Regions from separate parts of the Homo sapiens genome. Here region 2 is linked to region 1. Evidence: promoter capture Hi-C in 16 types of primary human blood cells and fetal thymus (Javierre and others, 2016). All regions are on one chromosome and are shown on one strand. The core of a region is centred on a gene start or on the middle of the fragment in contact, and the rest is flanking DNA. Distances in the headings are between cores, read along the strand shown. Region 1 holds the start of KLLN (killin, p53 regulated DNA replication inhibitor). Region 2 overlaps RNLS (renalase, FAD dependent amine oxidase).

What was found. The method cuts DNA at HindIII sites, captures the fragments that hold promoters and counts their contacts. A CHiCAGO score of 5 or more calls a contact.
Region 2: a contact is called between a fragment that was not itself captured here and the fragment with the promoter of KLLN in region 1, in 1 of 17 cell types (total B cells). The highest score is 5.5, in total B cells.

Annotation. Positions count from the first base shown.
Region 1 is chr10:87,862,267-87,866,447 of GRCh38, forward strand. KLLN (killin, p53 regulated DNA replication inhibitor) reads right to left here and starts at 1,267. Exons shown (of 1, transcript NM_001126049.2): 1 at 1-1,267. The coding sequence starts at 221. It overlaps MLDHR (mitochondrial lactate dehydrogenase regulator), which reads left to right and starts at 1,293. Exons shown (of 1, transcript NM_001433720.1): 1 at 1,293-1,388. The coding sequence starts at 1,293. The coding sequence ends at 1,388. PTEN (phosphatase and tensin homolog) reads left to right here and starts at 1,359. Exons shown (of 9, transcript NM_000314.8): 1 at 1,359-2,282. The coding sequence starts at 2,204. RefSeq lists enhancers at 1-83, 334-513 and silencers at 1,114-1,423, 1,514-1,653. The HindIII fragment of the contact is 7,182 bases long and covers 1-4,181 here.
Region 2 is chr10:88,516,940-88,520,841 of GRCh38, forward strand. The region is part of intron 4 of RNLS (renalase, FAD dependent amine oxidase); the gene reads right to left. Among named protein-coding and RNA genes, the nearest start is that of RNLS, 64 kb to the right of the region's middle. The HindIII fragment of the contact is 452 bases long and covers 1,638-2,089 here.

The DNA.
Region 1 (4,181 bases), core at 17-2,516:
GAAAGTTCCCCAACTAGGGACACACGTGACCTCCTTCGGAAAGTAGTTCCGACTGTGGCCCGTGTATCCTTCCACCTCCTTTTGAACCCTCCTAGGTCTCCTCGCCCCGCCCACTCGCTGGGCTGCAGCTTCCTACCGTTCCGTACTTTCCACTCAACCCGGTAACCCCAAACGTGCACGGTCCGGCCGGGGCGCGCGGAGCCTGGCCCCGGGCGATCCATCCTGCCGGGTTTTCACGGCGGCCAAGGGGGGGCGGGGCTAGGTGGTCTCTGAGAACCGAGCTTGACTCCGACGCCGCGAACCGACCTGGAGCCCGAGGGGAAAGATGCTCGACTCTCTTGGGGGCACCGGAGCGGGCGCAGGAGAGGCCTGCGGGGTGCGTCCCACTCACAGGGATCCTCTTTCAGTTCATTTAGATAGGTGCCCTTTGGGCCCTTGAAATTCAACGGCTATGTGTTCACGTTCAGCACGCTCGGCTGAGAGCTTTCATTTTTAGGGCAAACGAGCCGAGTTACCGGGGAAGCGAGAGGTGGGGCGCTGCAAGGGAGCCGGATGAGGTGATACACGCTGGCGACACAATAGCAGGTTGCTCTTTGTGCTAAGACTGACACCATGAGGACACAGATTTGGGGGAAGGGGGAATCTCTAGGCAAAGGCTGTTACAGTCAAATCTCTGCGAACGATTGTGATCCGACAGCGGTGCAAAAGGAAAGAGCGAATGCAGTCCACGCCGCGGAAATCTAGGGGTAGAGGCAAGGGGGGAGGGTATTCCCCTTGCAGGGACCGTCCCTGCATTTCCCTCTACACTGAGCAGCGTGGTCACCTGGTCCTTTTCACCTGTGCACAGGTAACCTCAGACTCGAGTCAGTGACACTGCTCAACGCACCCATCTCAGCTTTCATCATCAGTCCTCCACCCCCGCCCCACAACAGCCTACCCTGCCTCCGGCTGGGTTTCTGGGCAGAGGCCGAGGCTTAGCTCGTTATCCTCGCCTCGCGTTGCTGCAAAAGCCGCAGCAAGTGCAGCTGCAGGCTGGCGGCTGGGAACCGGCCCGAGCAAGCCCCAGGCAGCTACACTGGGCATGCTCAGTAGAGCCTGCGGCTTGGGGACTCTGCGCTCGCACCCAGAGCTACCGCTCTGCCCCCTCCTACCGCCCCCTGCCCTGCCCTGCCCTCCCCTCGCCCGGCGCGGTCCCGTCCGCCTCTCGCTCGCCTCCCGCCTCCCCTCGGTCTTCCGAGGCGCCCGGGCTCCCGGCGCGGCGGCGGAGGGGGCGGGCAGGCCGGCGGGCGGTGATGTGGCGGGACTCTTTATGCGCTGCGGCAGGATACGCGCTCGGCGCTGGGACGCGACTGCGCTCAGTTCTCTCCTCTCGGAAGCTGCAGCCATGATGGAAGTTTGAGAGTTGAGCCGCTGTGAGGCGAGGCCGGGCTCAGGCGAGGGAGATGAGAGACGGCGGCGGCCGCGGCCCGGAGCCCCTCTCAGCGCCTGTGAGCAGCCGCGGGGGCAGCGCCCTCGGGGAGCCGGCCGGCCTGCGGCGGCGGCAGCGGCGGCGTTTCTCGCCTCCTCTTCGTCTTTTCTAACCGTGCAGCCTCTTCCTCGGCTTCTCCTGAAAGGGAAGGTGGAAGCCGTGGGCTCGGGCGGGAGCCGGCTGAGGCGCGGCGGCGGCGGCGGCACCTCCCGCTCCTGGAGCGGGGGGGAGAAGCGGCGGCGGCGGCGGCCGCGGCGGCTGCAGCTCCAGGGAGGGGGTCTGAGTCGCCTGTCACCATTTCCAGGGCTGGGAACGCCGGAGAGTTGGTCTCTCCCCTTCTACTGCCTCCAACACGGCGGCGGCGGCGGCTGGCACATCCAGGGACCCGGGCCGGTTTTAAACCTCCCGTGCGCCGCCGCCGCACCCCCCGTGGCCCGGGCTCCGGAGGCCGCCGGCGGAGGCAGCCGTTCGGAGGATTATTCGTCTTCTCCCCATTCCGCTGCCGCCGCTGCCAGGCCTCTGGCTGCTGAGGAGAAGCAGGCCCAGTCGCTGCAACCATCCAGCAGCCGCCGCAGCAGCCATTACCCGGCTGCGGTCCAGAGCCAAGCGGCGGCAGAGCGAGGGGCATCAGCTACCGCCAAGTCCAGAGCCATTTCCATCCTGCAGAAGAAGCCCCGCCACCAGCAGCTTCTGCCATCTCTCTCCTCCTTTTTCTTCAGCCACAGGCTCCCAGACATGACAGCCATCATCAAAGAGATCGTTAGCAGAAACAAAAGGAGATATCAAGAGGATGGATTCGACTTAGACTTGACCTGTATCCATTTCTGCGGCTGCTCCTCTTTACCTTTCTGTCACTCTCTTAGAACGTGGGAGTAGACGGATGCGAAAATGTCCGTAGTTTGGGTGACTATAACATTTAACCCTGGTCAGGTTGCTAGGTCATATATTTTGTGTTTCCTTTCTGTGTATTCAACCTAGGGTGTGTTTGGCTAGACGGAACTCTTGCCTGGTTGCAAGTGTCAAGCCACCGATTGCTTTCTTAGGCTATCTATATGGTCTCTTCCTGAGGGCTATTGTCCGTTAATACAGAATACAGTACACTGTTAGTGGATTAGCGAGCTCGGTAATCCGGTCTCCTAAATGAACAAAAAAGTAGACGCTTTTTGAGGTTGAGCATATTTCGATTAAATCTTGGCTTAGGCCCTAGATCAAGGGTTTAGATCAGAATAAAATGAAAATTAGTGTTGCACGTACGCATATTGCATCAGAATCTTGCAGTGATTGTTTTAGTTTCCTGAGTTGCATTGATAGATTCTTTTAAAATATGACTGATTTGCATAACTTTAGAAGCAGAATCATTTTCAGTATATATGGTGCACATTGAGGGCAAAAAGTAGTTTTGTTAATGTTTAAACTTAAGTTACCTACAACTTTGAACTGTATGTAGAAGTTTTGTAGTTTGAAGTCAATAGTGCCATAATATACCTTATAAGGCGTTCTTACTAGATCTTTGTTATATTTACCTTTTTCTCTCCCTATGGGGTGATGTAGGATAGTGCTTGAAATTTGCACTTCAGTAGCATTTAATGTTCAGTGCTCTTGTCATAAACATAGAATGGATATTGAGTAGTTTCTGATCCCAGATGGTAATGTGTAGGTTCAAGGGTATTGTGTGTAGCAAGTGAAGATTGCAGAAATAAAACTTCAGTTCATGCTTGAAATTTAAGTATTGTTGTGATGCCAGAATTGCTGCTCACCGTTTTTAGGTTTCAGGTCCTCTGACACCTTTTGGTATCGTTAATTTTACTGATTTGTGTAGAATGTCAGTTGTATTTTACCAGCTAATATCTAGAAATGCTGGCAAGAGGGGTTTACTCCAGCTTTAGATTGTAGGTATGTTAGCTTTTTTCATACAGTGTATTAAATTTACTGAGTCAGCTTGCTGAATAAGACAGAAGCCCAAGAATTTTAACAGTGTGTAGCTTTAGTTGTCTAAAAGTTAGGCCTTCGGGCTTCAAAAGTTAGTGGTCATCGAAAAGCATTAATCTTTGCAGTTTCAGGTACAACACATTGGTTTTGATTAGGGATGGGGATGGGGCCCTCTTTTTGCAGAATGGGGAAAGTATTGACAGGAATTGAGAGCTATTGGTAGGCCAGTGTATAAGGTATGTGAAAACAGAATTAAGTTATTGGTCTGAAGTGACTGAAGCATTTAGGCTCTATCAAGGCCTAAAATTTGGTAATATGAGTTTGGTAATGCGAATTGTGGCAGTGGACAATATTTAGTTAAAATTATGTAATTGCATAAGTACTAGCACAGTATTTTTAATAAAAGTTATTTCTTAGCAAATGTCAGTTGCATTTTGTCTAAAGGTAGAGTGACACTACAGTGTCTATATGTCCTGCTAAAAATTGTGGGGAATATTTTTTTTTAAGACAGCGTTTATATCGGGAGAGGTTTTATTCCGTTGGATTATGTTAGCTGCATATAAATGTGCACAGTTAATTTTGCCCAAGTTTTTGTTTTGAAATGAATGTAAAACTTACTGAAGAAGTAGCTTCCCAAAATTTAGTTTTCTGTTAAGCCAAAAATATTATTTTAAAAGAGTATTTGCAAATTTTGAAGTTGACATTAATTGAGAATGTTACTAAGGCTAAACTGGACCCGCTTGCCCAGAAGATAATTATGGAAAAATTCTTTTGTGACTTCCAA
Region 2 (3,902 bases), core at 614-3,113, 660 kb after region 1:
ATGACAATACACCAACCATTAAGTGAGATCAAGTCATATCTAGTTTTCATTTCAAAATATGATAGAACTGTGTGGAATTATATTCTATCTATATTATGATAGCTATGATCTGGAGGTGACATGGTTAATTTCCCTGGCAGACTATAAAATCACCCAGCTAGGAATGGTGAAAGCTGTTAATCAGAAAGATAACCTTTGAAAGCCTTACTCCTTTCATAATGGTTGCTAGTTAAATATGAACATCTGGGAAACAATTATGAATTCATTGTGCATAAATCTATTGCCCTATGTACAGAACTCCTTTTTATTACAAACAGACTTTACATAATAAGGAAAGAATAAATGTATCAACTTTTCATTTTTTACCACATACTTATTTGATGCACCATTTATTAACAAAATCAACATTGTCCTTGGATGTCCATAACACTGGTTATAAAATAGAGATAATAATATTTGGTTGAGAACATATCTAAAAGGTTTAATGTTTTAGCAATGCTTTGAAATTTTAAATGGTTTGAATGTGCTAATTTTTACAATATTGTCTCAAACGTTTACTTTGATATTTATTTTACATGGTATGTAATATGAACTGAGAAAAATGGCCTTTGTTTTTTACATAAATACATAACGGTTGATAAATTTTAAAAAGTGACTTCCATGAGCCATTTATTCATCTAATATTTTTACTGCCAATTTTAAGATAATCTTTCAACATGGGCACCTATACTATTCAGTTAAAGAAATTTCTTCGAAACTTCTCATAAACACAAATGCCTGAAGGCCTAAATTACTTATAAAAAGTGAAAAGCGAAAGAGACTCATATAATCTTTAACTGAATAAATATTTTTCCACCTAACCAAATCTGACTGCCAACACCAGAAGGTTTGGAGAGAAAATTTTCATACCATTTGAAAAGGAACACTGAATTTTACACAATGGGAAAAAAATAAATAGATTATAGCTCTGGCTAATGGTATTAAAACATTAAGATTCTTTTGTTATAAATCTTAATTTTGTGAAGTATGTAACTAGGACAGGCCCTAATCCCAAATGAAATTTAATTGAAAGTTGTTTTTGGAAACATGGTAAGAGAGATTTCTCTTTTTAGTGTTGCCAAATAGAGCTGACTCTAGATGCTTCTTCATTGTCACTTCAGCCAAGTTAGACCATAATGAGAACTAGTCTTTTTGTCTTTAATCCAACAGCTTAAATAAAATTTAAGCCCTAGATTTTTTATTAAAATACATGAAAAAGGGGCTTTCAGAAAACTTGGCATTAAGGATACACATATTTACCCATAACAGTAAGTAGCATGCATATGTATAATGTAACCCACAGGCAAAATATAGTATGCATCTGTTCATTTATACTTGTGGATAAGGGATTTTTATTCCCTACAGTAAACCTTTCTACATTAACATTGAAGGAAAAAAATTCTGTCAATACATCAATATGAAAAAAAGGATTGCTAAAGAAGAAGGCTAAAATACACTGTAAATTAAGTTAGAAAATCTTGTTAGAGATCCTTACAACATGTCATTTACATTTGTGACATTTAACAAAATTGCAATTGAATAAATATCAGTATAATTGGTTTGCTGTTCATCTCTCCCATTATACTATGAACTGCAAAAGCTTAATCTTGAGTATCTAGCAAGATAGGCACATGATCAAATACAAACAGATGGAAAGCTAAAGTCCAGGGTAAACCTGGGATGCTTAAGCACTTGTTTTGGAAAAAAATCACTGTCTACCTAGAGAGAGGAGAAAAGGAACAGTAAGAAGTAACGTGGATTGTCCACCTACTATGGGTACTACAGGTCAGCTCCTATGGTATAGATGTATCGCTGCTGTTAATACAATAGCTCTAGAGAGAAAGTATCACAGCCTCCATTAGACAGCTGGGAAACTGATAAGAAAGAGATTAAGTGACCCTCCTCATTAGTAAAGTCCAGGACTACATCCCTGTACTCTTTCCATTTGACCCTTGTATATCTCTAAAGAAAGAAAAGATAGTCCTTTAGCTTTTAGTTTCATAAAGGAGAAAACTAATACTTTCTCCATCTTCCACATTAGTGATTCAAAAGCTTGGCTGCTCATTAGAACCATTTGAGAACTGTTTAAAAAGCATCTGAGTCCTACAGCCAGATATCCTGATTCAGAGATCTGGGATCCTCCCAGGCATTTCTGTATTTAAAAATCTCCACAGGTGAACCTAATGTGCATTCAGGCTTGAACTGCTATTCTTTTCTAAGCCTATCAAATATTCTATCCTTATCCTGCCCCAAATTATAAGCATCTTCCTGATTGAAAGGATATTAGAAATGTTTGCACACTTCTAAATTCCAGGCATTGTATAAAAGGGTTTCATATATATATTGCCTCCCACATGTAATCTCATTTATTAGACAGTAGACTAATGCTTACATAGGCATAATTATCATTCCCTTAATCTTATAAAAACAACATATATATATTTATATAATTTCTAAAACATACCTTGTGTCTCTCTTAAAAATGTCAAATATGTTGTTCATTTCAAGATGTCTTTAACAACCAGAAAAAAAAAAGAAACAGAAAAAAGGCTTCCACTAAGCCCAAGAAGCTTAAGGATTCTATTTGTGCTGCTTCCTGACCCTACCTATTAAAATGCAGTATCTCTAATGTCCTACAAAGCCCTTCACAAATATTTATGGATCCCCAAGGGTTATCTTATGTGTGCTCTTGAATAAGCACTGCCAGCTACATAGATATATATCTGATATATATCACATATATATGATATATATCACATATATATGATATATATCATATATAGATGATACCTGACATTTTGTTCTCTTTTCCTGCACTAGGTATCCCCCATATCCATGATGTCTGAAACTCAGTCTCTGAGGTCTTCAATGTTGTCTAAATGTATTTAGCGCTGCCTCCAGCTGACATATCACTAATTTACCACTGTAACTTGCTGGATACTGCTGCCTTTGCCAAACATTGTGCCCATGTCTTATGGATACCACAATCTCCTGTTGCATTCTGGCCAGTGAACCTGAGTCCCCGAAGACCTAAAGTTGCTCTGGGTTCTCTGAAATTCATAATATGTAGAAGTTACTCTGTGTTGCATGAAAAGTGGACAGCTGTCTGGAAGTGCCTCATTCCCTGATTCAGGGATGTAATTTTTCACACAAATACTGAAGAGGTACTGCTCCAAAGGCTCCCAAGACTTTAGTGAGAAGTTCTTTGTTTTTCTCTACAGTTCTTTCCTGCCTATCTCCCTATAAGAGTCACAGGGTATTTTAAGGGGGAATGTCCAGTACATGAATCAAGTGATGGGCACAATGATATTCTCAGAAGTATCACTCGCAACAATTATTAAAGTTTTGTTAATAGTTCAACTTTGTCTACCTTCATCCTCCCTGGGAAGGAGTTCTCTCCCCAGAAATGCTATCTAGTCTCTCTTGTGAATTGTCTTCTGGCAGGTCAGTTTCACCAATCTCATAGACATGCCCAAACGTGTGGGCATTTGGGTGACAGGGCTGGCTTAGGCTCAAGCTAGGGACACCATGATAGCCACATAAATGTGAAACTGTTTCTTGGCATATTAGTTAAGAAAAGAAATTGATGATTGAGGTAGTAAGAGGCAGGTAATCCTATATGTTGCCTCTTATTTGCCATCTTCCACATCTCACACATATGGCACAGATGATCCATATCTCTGAATAAATATTTTATTCAACATATGCATAAAAACCTCCTCCTGGAGGAAAAGTTCTAAATCCAGAATAGAATCATGTCCCCAGAATACTGGCCTATTAAAACAAACTTGGAAGAGTTGTAGGAAGGGGTAAATTATCAGATGCCAAGATCCTATGTAAATACTAGTTTATACTACCTTAAC